Regions from separate parts of the Homo sapiens genome. Here region 1 is linked to region 2. Evidence: promoter capture Hi-C in 16 types of primary human blood cells and fetal thymus (Javierre and others, 2016). All regions are on one chromosome and are shown on one strand. The core of a region is centred on a gene start or on the middle of the fragment in contact, and the rest is flanking DNA. Distances in the headings are between cores, read along the strand shown.

Evidence for each region. The method cuts DNA at HindIII sites, captures the fragments that hold promoters and counts their contacts. A CHiCAGO score of 5 or more calls a contact.
Region 1: a fragment that was not itself captured here is called in contact with the fragment with the promoter of TBCK in region 2 in 1 of 17 cell types (total CD8 T cells); the score reaches 7.8 in total CD8 T cells.

The regions. Positions count from the first base shown.
Region 1 is chr4:118,682,834-118,689,301 of GRCh38, forward strand. METTL14 (methyltransferase 14, N6-adenosine-methyltransferase non-catalytic subunit) reads left to right here and starts at 2,559. Exons shown (of 11, transcript NM_020961.4): 1 at 2,559-2,767; 2 at 5,090-5,178. The coding sequence starts at 2,702. It overlaps METTL14-DT (METTL14 divergent transcript), which reads right to left and starts at 2,508. Exons shown (of 7, transcript NR_125930.1): 1 at 2,472-2,508; 2 at 1,575-1,634. RefSeq lists enhancers at 2,518-2,777, 2,958-3,097. The HindIII fragment of the contact is 429 bases long and covers 3,011-3,439 here.
Region 2 is chr4:106,311,778-106,317,977 of GRCh38, forward strand. It overlaps TBCK (TBC1 domain containing kinase), which reads right to left and starts at 4,432. Exons shown (of 26, transcript NM_001163435.3): 1 at 4,154-4,432. AIMP1 (aminoacyl tRNA synthetase complex interacting multifunctional protein 1) reads left to right here and starts at 4,773. Exons shown (of 7, transcript NM_001142416.2): 1 at 4,773-4,817. RefSeq lists enhancers at 4,012-4,101, 4,182-4,241, 4,732-4,981. The HindIII fragment of the contact is 5,300 bases long and covers 1,962-6,200 here.

The sequences.
Region 1 (6,468 bases), core at 1,975-4,474, about 12 Mb after region 2:
TCCCAAAGTGCTGGGATTACAGGCGTAAGCCACTGCGCCTGGCCCACCTAACGATTTTTTGACTTACAATGGATTTATTGGGACATAGCCCCATCATAAGTTGGGGAGCATCATGAGTTGTAGAGTATAGGTTTGGAGGAGTCAGTCTCCAGGAGCTTGGGGAGAGATGCATAAGTTATAATGTGGATCTCTCTTTACTTCCTTAAATTAAGTGCCTAGAAGTAAATTGCTTCTTCAAAAAGTATGGATTTTATGTGAGGACTTCCGAAATTTCTTCCCCCTCTTCCTGCCACACACACCCCCTAGTGGCCTTTATGTTGTCATAATGAACAGATGTTACTGATGGGCTTGTAAAATTCTCTACAAGTATGCTGATGTGGTCTGGTGTTTTAAAATTCATTAGTTGGGAGAGAGATTTCAAAATTATATCCCCTTCTTTGTACAAACTGCAACAACCCTCTGCCCAACTCCAACAGTTTTGTAAATATTACATGGAAGTACATATCTGCATCAGTACAGTTCCAGGCAGGAAAACAAATAATTAAAAGTATTTTAAACAGACGCCATTCACTATGGAGAAATAGTTAAGCAGATATTGAAGGCTAGAAGAGCAAAAAGGGAGAAGTAAGATTAAATCAGAAATTTTAAACTGCAGGATGGCTACCAGTCCTTGAGCTGGTGGAACAGAAGGTAGAAGTAGTAGTATCATAGCACAAGAGCAAACTCACTCACTGTTAAGGGTGTCACTTTCTTAAGGTAAGGAAAGGAGGGGCTGCTCCAACTGGCTCTAGACTTTGTAAGGGACATAGTCATCGCTCTAGATGCCAGAAGCAGAGAGTAAAATAAATGGACAATAGCTTTCCCATGTTCCACCTTTTGATTTCCTGCCTGTGCCTCCTGTGGGCAGAGTCTTACAGGAAGCCATCTAACAAGGAAGGCTGGGAAATGTAGTTTGTGGACTCCCTGCCTAGCCATCATCTCGAAGCAGAGGGTAGGTGAGTATGGGGTTCAAAGATTACAAGCAAGTAACCTGCATAGCAACTTATCAGGAAAAAGAAAAATCCTCCATTAGACAGTAAACTCATAAAGAAAAACCGACTTTAGTTTTTAATCTTTGACAGACTTTATAGACTCTAGGGCCTATCACAGTGCTTGCCATATAAAATGCTCAATCAATATCAACAGATATTTAAGTGAATAATTGCCTATTCTCACCATTGGTAAAATTTAAATCAGTATTCAACTTAAATGATTGCCAGATAATACAACTGATTTTTAAAGAAATACACTTTAACTCATATGGACATAAATATTTTACAGTATCCAAGTAGTGCTGACATTACTCAAGGAATTGTTTAGGACTACTTGTTCAAAATTGTCTTTCAGACCTAGTTCTTCGGAAATACATTATAATTATTTCTATAAAAGTGGGCATGACTAAGTAGAATCTAGTCTTGCCCACTTTTGGCCCAGCCTGACTCAACTGGTTTTGATCTGGATGACTTAATATTATTTCTGAAAATTAAATCTACTCTGAAAGAACAGACTTATTACTAATTTTGTTAAGTACTTACCGCGATTTCCAATTAAACTTGAGGCAACATGATGTCTTACTCCACTTCCGCCACTGTAGGCTTGAAATAAGATGGCAAGTGTGGTGAATAATAATGGTAATAACTCAAATAAGACTTTGGCCTTTGCTGCCATCCTATGAAGACAGAATCACCACCCCCCAGCCCTCACCCCTCACCCCCGCAATCCGAGTAATTTCAGGAAGCTATTTGTTTCCTTATCCTTGGGTTATTTTCAGTTAAGACAAATGTACAAGCACAAAAAGGAGTCTCTTAGCTTCTGACTCCTAGGACATAAACCAAGACACGCTTTACTATCACATACTCATTTCCCTAAAGGGAAGAAGCCAAAAAATGCATACTATAGTAAAATGGGAAACATTTCAAGGGACAGTAAGGTGTGGGGAAGAGTGGGCAGATGTTGTGGCTGTTACCTGCGTGAAGGTAAATAAAATATTAACAATAACAAGCACTTCTACACCGCTATGTGCAAGGTGCTATTTATCCTTTCAATCACAGCTCTGTGAGGTAGACACTTATGACTCCCATTTTACAGATGACAAAACTGAGGCTCACGAAGGTGGTTAACTAGCCAAGGCCACTCGTCTAGGAAGTGAGAGGCCAAGGTTCAATCCTAGGCAATCTGGCTTAAGTTTGTGTTCTGTTAAAAAAAAAAAAATTAAAGGTTATCTGGCAATTTTTTAAACGTCAGGACTGTCATCTGTGGAATCAATTGAAAAGGGAATCAACACTTCAGAAACTGTAATACACCAAGGGAACCTGCTATCCTGGGAAAGAGAGATAAAGGAGAAGTCAGCTGACTGTCCTCCTTCAGACTAGCTCAGACCACCCCAACCTGCGAGGGCCCTGGAGACCCCTGTGGCGCAACAGATCCCTTACTGGGTCCCTTCCAAGTGGCGTCACATAGCAAGCGTCCAGAAGGAGGCGGGACTTCCGGGCCAAGCGAGCCAATTCCGGCCGCGCCGGAAGTCTCTACTGAGGAAAGCTATGAGGATACTCTGTTCGTAAGCTCCCGGTGAATTTTGTTCCACAGACTCGGAAGAAAGGTTGGATAAGAGTTCACTGGAGATTGACAAGTACTCGGGATAGTGAAAAGCCGGAGTTGGAACATGGATAGCCGCTTGCAGGAGATCCGGGAGCGGCAGAAGTTACGGCGACAGCTCCTCGCGCAGCAGGTCCGCGGCCCTGGTGTCCCCTGTGGGAGGGATCGAGAATGCGAGTGCGCGGCCGCCTCCTCCCTCCACACCCCGCCTTTTTCTGTCCCTTCTCTACCTGCCGCTGTTAAGGCCTTTCTGGTCCTGCGATCTTGATCCCTGGTTCTGCCTTTGTAGTTCTCAATTTTCGCGGTGTCCCGAATGTTTTTCCAGTTCCTTCCGCGGTCTTTGTGGTGCTAAACCGAATGCCAGGATTAGCCTTTAAGCTTTGTGGAACTCCCACCGAGTGTCTGGCATGTTCACGCCAGGATGAGTGTCATGTTATCCCCTACATTTCTCTTCACTATTAAATGGTCATCTATTTCTTTCTTTTCTTCGTCGTCAGCCCCAAATTCTTGAGATTGTGGTTTCATTATGAAATACGTTTACAGTATTTTCTTTGACATCTTTCTGAAGACAACACTGGAAGTAGCCTGAGTGTAAATTTTAGATTCTGCATCTTATATAGAGTATCCTTGTCACATCCACAGTTAATATTTGAAATCTTACTCTGTGTTAGTCACAATAATCTCCTGAAACAGGTATTATTACCTTCACTTATCAAGTAATGAAAAAGGCTCCATACGTTAAGGAATTTTACTCCTGGTCGCTCACTTCTCTGCTGGGAAATAGAACCTAGGTTTGTCTCCCCAAAGCTTGTCTTCTAAACCATTGTCCTTCACTTCTTTCTTGTGTATGAGTAAGTTAACATTTGCTGATTAGTAGAGTGCACATGCAGAAAATACAGATTGTGCACAGTTCTACTTAAAATCGAGGCTGTATTTTCCATTCTACTATTCAGATCAGTAAAAGTGATAGGAGCAATGCTCATAGAGTGTAATTAGTCATCTTGCAGTTATTTTTCAGTAATGAAACTTGGTTTTAGTAAATGGACTTCTGAAACCTATCCTCTTTATGGTCTGATGAACAGATTTGTGGAATATGGCTAAAACCGTGGAAACTTGGAGTCAGATTTGTTCCTTTGTTCCTTATCCCGCTGGCATTACGATCTTGGGCAAATCAAGTATCCTTTCTAAGTCTTCTTTTCGCCAACTTCTTTTATCGTATTATCTTCAAAAATGTTAAGTAGCTCTTTGTTGCTACCACAGAAGACGTTTTACTCCTTAATATTGAATTCAAACTTCTATTTGACTCAATATACATTCATAGGACAATTATTTGTTTAGTGTTTTACACTCAGCAGATGCCAGGGGCTCTACCTTTTAAAGTCTTTTATGAATTGGTTGCACTCTACTTAGCCAGCCTTATAACCATTATTTGTTTACATTTGTTTGTATTTTGCAAAATTTTCCAAACTGCCAAACAAAATTTATGTTACCATTTTAAGGTAGTAAAGTTCAGCCTTGTGTCTATAAATAGTAAGACTTAGCTTGAGTAAAACTGGATCGATTTTTATTAGAGCATAGAATAAATAAGTTATATAAGCTGATGCCTACAAAATGTTTAACATGGTACCCACAACCCTGTGCAAACACTGTCTTATCTGCCTTTTTTAGTTATTGCTATTGCAGGTTGAATATCTCTTATCTGAAATGCTTGGGCCAGAAGTGTTTTGGATTTCAGATTTTTTTCAGGATTTGGAATATTTGCATATTACTTACTGGTTGAGCATGCCAAATACCAAAACTCAAAATCGGAATGCTTCAGTGACCATTTCCTTTGAATGTCATGTCAGTACTCAAAAAGTTCCAGATTTTGGAGCGTTTTGGATTTTGGATTTTCAGATTTGGAATGCTCATTTTATATTAAATCGTGTGTATTGCTTCACAGGAAATTGGCTAAAGTGTCTTATTTTCAAATACAGATGGTTCCAGACTTACTATCATTTGACTTAACAATTGACTTTATGATGGTTTGAGAGTGATAGGCATCCAGGCTGCTCATTGACTTACGGTGGAGTTGTGTTCTGATAAACCCATCATAAGTGGAAAATATTGTAACTTGAAAACACACTTACAACGTTTATTTTGAAACAGATTTACTTTCAACTTACAATGGGTTTATCAGGACATAACCTCATCATAAATCAAGGAGCCGCTGTATAACTGAAAGCATAAAATGTTTTGCCAGCTGTCAAACTCATCTTAATTAATGCGGTTTTTTTCCAGAGTTTTTCCAGTTTGTCTTGCAAGCTGATTAATTCATTGTTTTGTGTGTGTGTGTGTGTGTGTGAATTAAGGTGTTTTTGTTTTTTAAGTATTTAATGTATTAAATGCTGCTACAAATGCCCAGAAAGGCTATCCAGTGCATTGCAATCTAATTTCTGATTTTGTCTTTTCTCAGTTGGGAGCTGAAAGTGCCGACAGCATTGGTGCCGTGTTAAATAGCAAAGATGAGCAGAGAGAAATTGCTGAAACAAGAGAAACTTGCAGGTCAGTCAGATAATTCTTTTTTTTTTTTTTTTTGAGACAGGGTTTCACTCTGTTGCTTAGGCTGGATAGGCTGGAGTACAGTAGCATGATTATGGCTCACTGCAGCCTTGACTCCTGGGCTCAAGTGGTACACCTGCCTTGGCCTCCCAAAGTGCTGAGATTACAGATATGAGCCACTGTGCCGAGGCAGGTGGATCACTTGAGCCCAGGAAGTCGGGAGTTCGAGGCCAGTCTGGCCAACATGGTGAAATCCCATCTCTACTAAAAATACAAAAATTAGCCAGACATGGTGGCGGGCTCCTGTAATCCCCGCTACTCGGGAGCCTTAGGCAGTAGAATTGCTTGAAACCGGGAGGCGGAGATTGTAGTGAGCTGAGCCAAGATTGTGCCACTGCACTGCAGCCTGGGAGACAGAGTGAGACTCCGTCTCAAAAAAAAAAAAAAAATGTGAAAGGATTACTGTTTTAATAAATAACCCTAGGTAGGTATGCAGTGTATTAAGAAAAGCATCAAAATAATGATTTTAGACACAATGGTTTTTATTGTCAGTTCATTAATTATAAAATATTTATTTTCTGAGGATAGTAAGTTCCCATTTGTAAAGTACTTAGAAAATGGAATGTTAGACTAAGAATTAGCATATATACTATAAATAAACAAGTATATTTAAACATTTTTTTGGAAATAGAGTCTCGCTCTGTCACCAGGCTTGAGTGCAGTGGCGCAATCTCGGCTCACTGCAACCTCCGCCTCCAGGGTTGAAGCAATTCTCCTGCCTCAGCCTCCCCAGTAGCTGGGACTACAGGTGCGCGCCACCACCCCCAGCTAATTTTTGTATTTTTAGTAAACATGGGGTTTCATCATGTTGGCCAGGCTGGTCTCGATCTCTTGACTTTTTGATCCGCCTGCCTTGGCCTCCCAAAGTGCTGGGATTACAGGCATGACCCACCATGCCCAGCCTAAAAATTTTTATAAAAGAAAATATACTTTATCCTAAAAGTGGTATTTATTTGGTAGTTCAGAAAGCATTTCAAAATTTTTTCGCTATTCTAGTTTTCAATTTGTACGTCTGTTTTGCTCAAAACAGATTAAAATAATACATACTATATAAATTTATTTTCAATATATCCCTTATAGCAGCTTATTTTCTCATTTGGTTGCTTTCTGATAAAAATGAAACACAGAATTATCAATCAGGTTATTTGACTTTTTGGATGACTTATAAACTGCGTAGATAGATATTCTTTAATCAGGAAAAATTTGTCTTGTTCTGTTTTTATAACCTGTTTA
Region 2 (6,200 bases), core at 3,182-5,681:
AATTTAAATAAAATAAATTGATTCTCAACAAAAGCAAAAGAGTTCAACAGGAAAAGGAAAGTCCTTTTTACAAATGGTGCTGGAAAAAGATATTCATATAAAAAAATAATAACCTCAACTTCTACTGATACATCCACAAAAATCTAAGATGGAACATAGGCTTAAGCGTAAAAGGTAAAACTGTTAGTCTTCTAATTGAAAACATAAGCGAATATCTTTACAACCTTAGGCTAGGCAAAGATTTCTTAGACACAATAGAACAAAGCACTAGCCACAAAAGACAATTTTGACAAAGTAGACTTCATCAAAATTAAAAACATCTGCATATCCAAAGGCACCCCTGAGAAAATAAAAATTCGAGTTAAAGGGAAATATTATTTACATCTGTCTGTATATACATATGACATTATGTATATATATGACCTTTTAAAATCAAACATATGTGTGTCTGTATATAATTGACCTGTATTCGGAGTCTATAAAGAAATACCACAATTCAATAATAAAACAAGCCAATACATAAATAGGTAAAAGTCACAAACATATTTTCACACAAGGCATGAAAATAATAAGCACATGAAAAAGTTCTTAATATCATTAATTGGGGGAAATGCAAATGAAAATCACAATGACAAACCTTTAACTTCTACAATGGCTAAAATTTAAATGACTGGCAGTAACAAGTGTTGAGAATGTGGAAGTGGAGCTTTGCTATATTGCTAGTGGGAGCGTAAAATGGCAAAAGAATTTTGGAAAATATTTGGAAAACTTTTCTAAAGTTAAAAATATCCCTAACTTATGACTCAGAAATTCCACTCTTTAACCAAGAAAAATGAAAACATTTGTCCATAAAAAAAAACACTGTATGAGTATGTTCATAGGAACTGTACTCTTAATAGCTAAAAACCAGAAGCAATGCAAATGTCCCATAAGTGAATCAATTAACATATTTGTACCATGAAATTCTATTTAACAAAAATGGAACAAACATGTCAAAACATGGATATACTCAAAAACATAAAGTTTATGAAAGAAGCAGACACAAAAGAGTTCATACTGTATGACTCCATTTAAATGTAATTCCAGAACTATAGTTCTAAACTATAGTATTAATAAAAAAATCAGAAGATAGTACTGTAGATGGGGGAGAGGGGTTGAATAAGCAGAGAAACAGAGGAACTTTCTGTAGTGGTAGAAATATTCTCTATCTCGATTGTGGTGGTAGTGGTTTTATGGATGAGTACATGCATCAAAACTCATTAAATTGGCCACTTAAAATCAATGTGTTTTAATATGTATCAAATTTTATCTCACACAAAATAAAACAGCTTATGAGAAGATAAACACTGCTATACATTTTCAAAGCATCAAACGTAACTAGAAAATTGTAAACATTTCAGACAGAAAAAACTGATTCTGCTATCAACAAGTTAAAGTGAGACTGGCATTCTCATCAGCAATAATGAAAGTCAGAAGAGAGCCTGGTGCAGTGGCTTGTGCCTGTGATCCCAGATACTTGAGAGGCTGAGGTGGGAGGATCACGTGAGGTCAGGAGTTTCAGACCAGACTGAGCAACACAGTGAGACTCCAGCTCAAAAAAAAGGAAAAAAAAAAAGTTAGAAGACATGGAAGGATTGAGAGTTGAAGGAAAATACTTTTGATTCTATATACAGCCAAATTATCAGTCATAAGAGCAAATTATAATTTACAGCTATACGAACATTAAAAAATAAAATTACCTTTCACTTGCCTTTTGTGAGCAAGTTTCCTTAGGATATATTCCAGGGAAATAGGGGGAAGCCCAATAACAGAAGATGAGGGGCTAAGAAACAATGTTATTTACCCAAGAATGAATATAAGCCCAGGATAGGAGCAATACAAAAGGACTAGAATGCAATCTGTTCAAATTAAACAGAAAGCCATTGGGCTTTAAGGGGAAAATCTTCAAACAGAGGAATGGAAGCTTGCTTCTATGTGCATCATACAAAGAATGAGAAGATTCAGTGAAGAAAGCACATCCACCTACCTATTCCCCAGGAGAAAGCAGAAAGGCAATTAAGAAAGTGGGGACGGTTAAAAACTATGTATTACATACTCCAAAATATAAAGCATGCTCAACTACAGCATATTTTGCCCTTGGCAGGAAAGAAATAAAAACCCATTTGACCTTGATATCATAAATAATCTCCTTAGTATGGCACAGGGATCATGAAGTTAAAACTCTGGGGAAAAAAACATATCAGAGCATACAGCTTGGACTTGCTCTAAGTAACAACTATAAAGCCATAATACTGTAAACATTTTATTTTTTTTATTGGTTTTTGGCACGTGAATAAAGCGCAAATGTTATAGTTAAGAAATATATTACTAACTTTGACAATGTACAAGTAAATGTCCAGCTAAGAGAAAGTGGGCATAAATGTAGTTTCTGAAGTGATAAAGAAAAAGGTAGAATCACTACTTTTCTCGTTTTACCAAACAAGGAGTCAAATATATTTTCAAAAGTTGATGTGAAAAAAGTAGTTTACGTATATTATTTTGAATTATAAAGTAACCAATACAAAAACTAAAAATTATGATTATGACTCTTCCAAAATTCAGAGGAGATTGTGAATGGTGTGGGCTATTTCTAGAAGTCAACGGAAAAAGAATTAGCAGTTCAACTTAGGGCTATCTCAAGAAGTCAACAAAAAGAATTAACAGTTTAACTTATTATTTAACCTACAGACCTAAAATTAGAAAAGGTTAAAAGTGGTTATCTTTGAAGAACAGTACTGAGAGTAGGACAGGTGAGACAGTTGCACTTTATTATTCAATCCTACTACGCTATACTACTTGATTTTTTTTTTTTTTTTTTTTTTTTTTGAGACAGAGTCTCACTCTGTCATCAAGGCTGGAGTGCAGTGGCATGATCTCGGCTCACTGCATCCTTCCACCTCCCGGGTTCAAGCGATTCTGTGCCTCAGCCTCCAGAGTGGCTGGGATTACAGGCGCCCGCCACCACGCCCGGCTAATTTTTGTATTTTTAGTAGAGACGGGGTTTCACCATCCTGGCCAGGCTGGTCTTGAACTCCTGACCTCAGGTGATCCACCCGCCTCGACCTCCCAAAGTGCTAGGACTACAGGCGTGAGCCACCGCGCCCGACCATTTTATTTTCAATCAGATGTCTTTATCATCACATAGCTGAAAATAAAATAACCAAATAAAACACAATGATCGAAAAAGATAAAACACTAATTAGCATAATCAGTGTTCTTTTTCCACTACCTCTTAAATGGTTGTACATAAAAAGGCTCACACACAAAAATACACACACATACATTCACTTACACCTCGTGAGTGGAAGAAAACTACCGGGGGAAAAAAAACGTAGAGATGAGAGATTAGATGAGGGAAACAGCAGTGCAAGCAGTTGGGCTTGAAAATTCATTCATTCAACAAATATTTTGAAGCCCCTATTTTAAGTCAGTTGTTTTTCCAGCTGGTGGGCAAAGGATAATGAACAAGTCAGACTCTGTGCCCTCAAAGAACTTAGAGTTTTAAACGACTCGAATGGGGAAAGAAAGTAAAAAATAGGGCAAAAGACGCCGATTTTATCATGAATAAAATTTCACATTTCTTCAACAGGAAAATGATACTAATTCATTTATTTTATATATACATTCTCTCAAGAGGTTATTTTTGTCTCAAATAGATAGAAACCAGGACAGGGATCCTTGAAAAGCAGCCACTGACAATCCTCAAGTAACTTCCTTCCTCTGCTTCACTTTCTCCTACTGCTCAAGGGGGTGTTACACTTTGACGACTGACTAAACCTCGAGGGCCAGAAACAAACCAAAGCAAAATTCTGCCTCCAAGGTGAGTAATGGAGGGGCGGATTCTAGATTCTCTAACCTCCTTTAGCCTTCCTTTGAGGCAGTGACAGAGCGATTACTAAGCCTACGGTTCCCAAACGACTCAGGTGAACCTGATTTACAGGAAAGGCGGGCTGTAGCTAGGGATGGAGACAGTACCTATCAGCAAGCGGCTCCACAGCTCGGTTCTCTATCTATTCTGAAGACATGCGGGGCCACTCACTGCTCCTGATAGTCCTCTACCTCCCACAGACCCCACCCACTACGACACGGAAAACTGGATTACCCAAATACCTGCCTCTGAGTCTGGGGACGCAGGCAAGCACAAAGACAAGGGGGATGGAGCTTCTACACAGGGCCCCAGCGCTGTCGCTGTGGCTGCTGCTGCCGCTACGGCTTAGTGCACCAGACGCTGCATTTCAGGTGCTCCTACAAAAGAGGCCACTCCTGGAACGCCGGGAGCTCAGACGCTGCCCTTTGCTCGCGAGCCAAGTCAGCCAAGGTTAACCTTCGCGGAACCCGGCGAGGAGCGCAAGCCTGGCCTTCCCCAAACACAGATCCGAGCTTTTCACCCTCTACCCTCCCCTCAGCCTGGCCTTTTCTTCCGCCCTCACAGCCACCGCGACCCAACGCTGAGGAAAGACCCCGACTTGTGGTGTCCTTCCCCTTGCCCAAACTGGCCACGAAAGGACATATAGCGAGAGAGAAAGAGGTGCGGGGGGACGGGGGGGGTCGATTGAAAATACTGGGTGAGGGAATGGAAGACGAGGAGCGTGGTATGGCAGGTTAATGGGACTGAGCACAGGAAGAGGAAGAAAGAATTGAGGGTTGAATCTGTAGAACACTCAGGCTTTCAGCAAGGACACCTCATTGGGTCCTTTCTCACTGCTATAGTACGCGGGTGGCTGGACCTACATGCTTCCTGCTGTGGCTGTCTCGGAACCCGTGGTCCTCCGCTTCATGTGAGTGACGTCGTGGCGGGTCACTCACTCGGGGATCGCCGATTGCGATCGTAGGGGTCTTCCTTCTCTAACTTGCCTCCAGGAGAGAGGACCTGGCCTGCGCTGCTAATGGGTAGTCCGTTCGCAGCAGGACCAGCCCTGGCCTAAGGAAACAGGAAAGAGTTTGAGACTTCCTTCTAAAGGAGCCACGTTTGAGAAATGGGATGCAGGCCTAAGTTAAGAATGCTACAGAAAAATATCGATCCCTAAGCGTATTTACTGTTATGTGAATGTGTGTGTCAAAGGACTTAGGTGCTTTGGGGGAGAGGAGGGTGAAGACAGGAATTTATTCATTGAGCGAATAGTTATTAAGCGCCCACTCTATTCCAGACACCGTTCTAGGCATTAGGTGAACAGCAGTGAACAAAACAGACGGAAATCTGTGTCTACTTGTAGCTCACATTTTAGAGAGGAAGGCACATACTAAGCAAAGTAATTAGAAACATACTGTATTTTAGGTCGTGATAGTCCTGAAGAGAAACGTAAAGCAGGGAAGAAGGGTATAAAGTGACACAGGAAGGTCTTGCTGAAAAGATGACTTTTAAGTAAAGGGCTGACAGAAGTGGGAGATTTAACCACGCGAATATCTTGGGAAAGTGCAGTCAGACAGAGGGACCAGCCATTGCAGAGGTCATGAAGCAGAAACGTGCTAGAATAGCAAGGAGGCCTGTAGGGCAGAGTTGAGTGAAGGGTTTAGTCCTTCACTGGAGATTAAATCAAGGCGAGCAGGTCATGAAGATCTTGAGGACATCTAACTTTTATTCTAAATGAAATAGGACTTTGGAGCGTTTTGAGCAGTAGAGTGATGGGCTCTGACTTCCTTTTAAGAGGGTCACTCTTTAAGGAAAATACACAGAGGAGGACGTGGTAGGAGAAAGGAGACCAATAAGAAGAGTTTTGCAATAATCCAGAGGAAGCATAATGGTGGTTTGACTATGGGTGGTAAGAAATGGCCAGTTATATTCTTGATGCACTTAATTTGGATATGTAAGAGTATTATAGATGACAGGGTTAATTTTATTTAATTAGGCTTTGGAGGACACTTGAAAAATGAATTCCAGTGTGAGTTTCAGAGTGGCAAACACAAGTTAAAATCATGGCTTTGCTATGTGGTACTTGAAGGGATTCAGATAAGTCATGTAATTTTCCTGGATCTGTCTATAAAATGGAAATCACATCTGTCAAGATTGCAAAGGTTAGGGTATATTATAGGTATTTAATGACAAGGTATGTAATGGGTCTAGTCTGCAAATCTTAACCAGGTAAAAGATGGCCTTATTGTGAGGTAAGAGGGTCATGGGAGGCCAAGGCATACTCCTTTTTAAATTTTATGGACTCTGTACT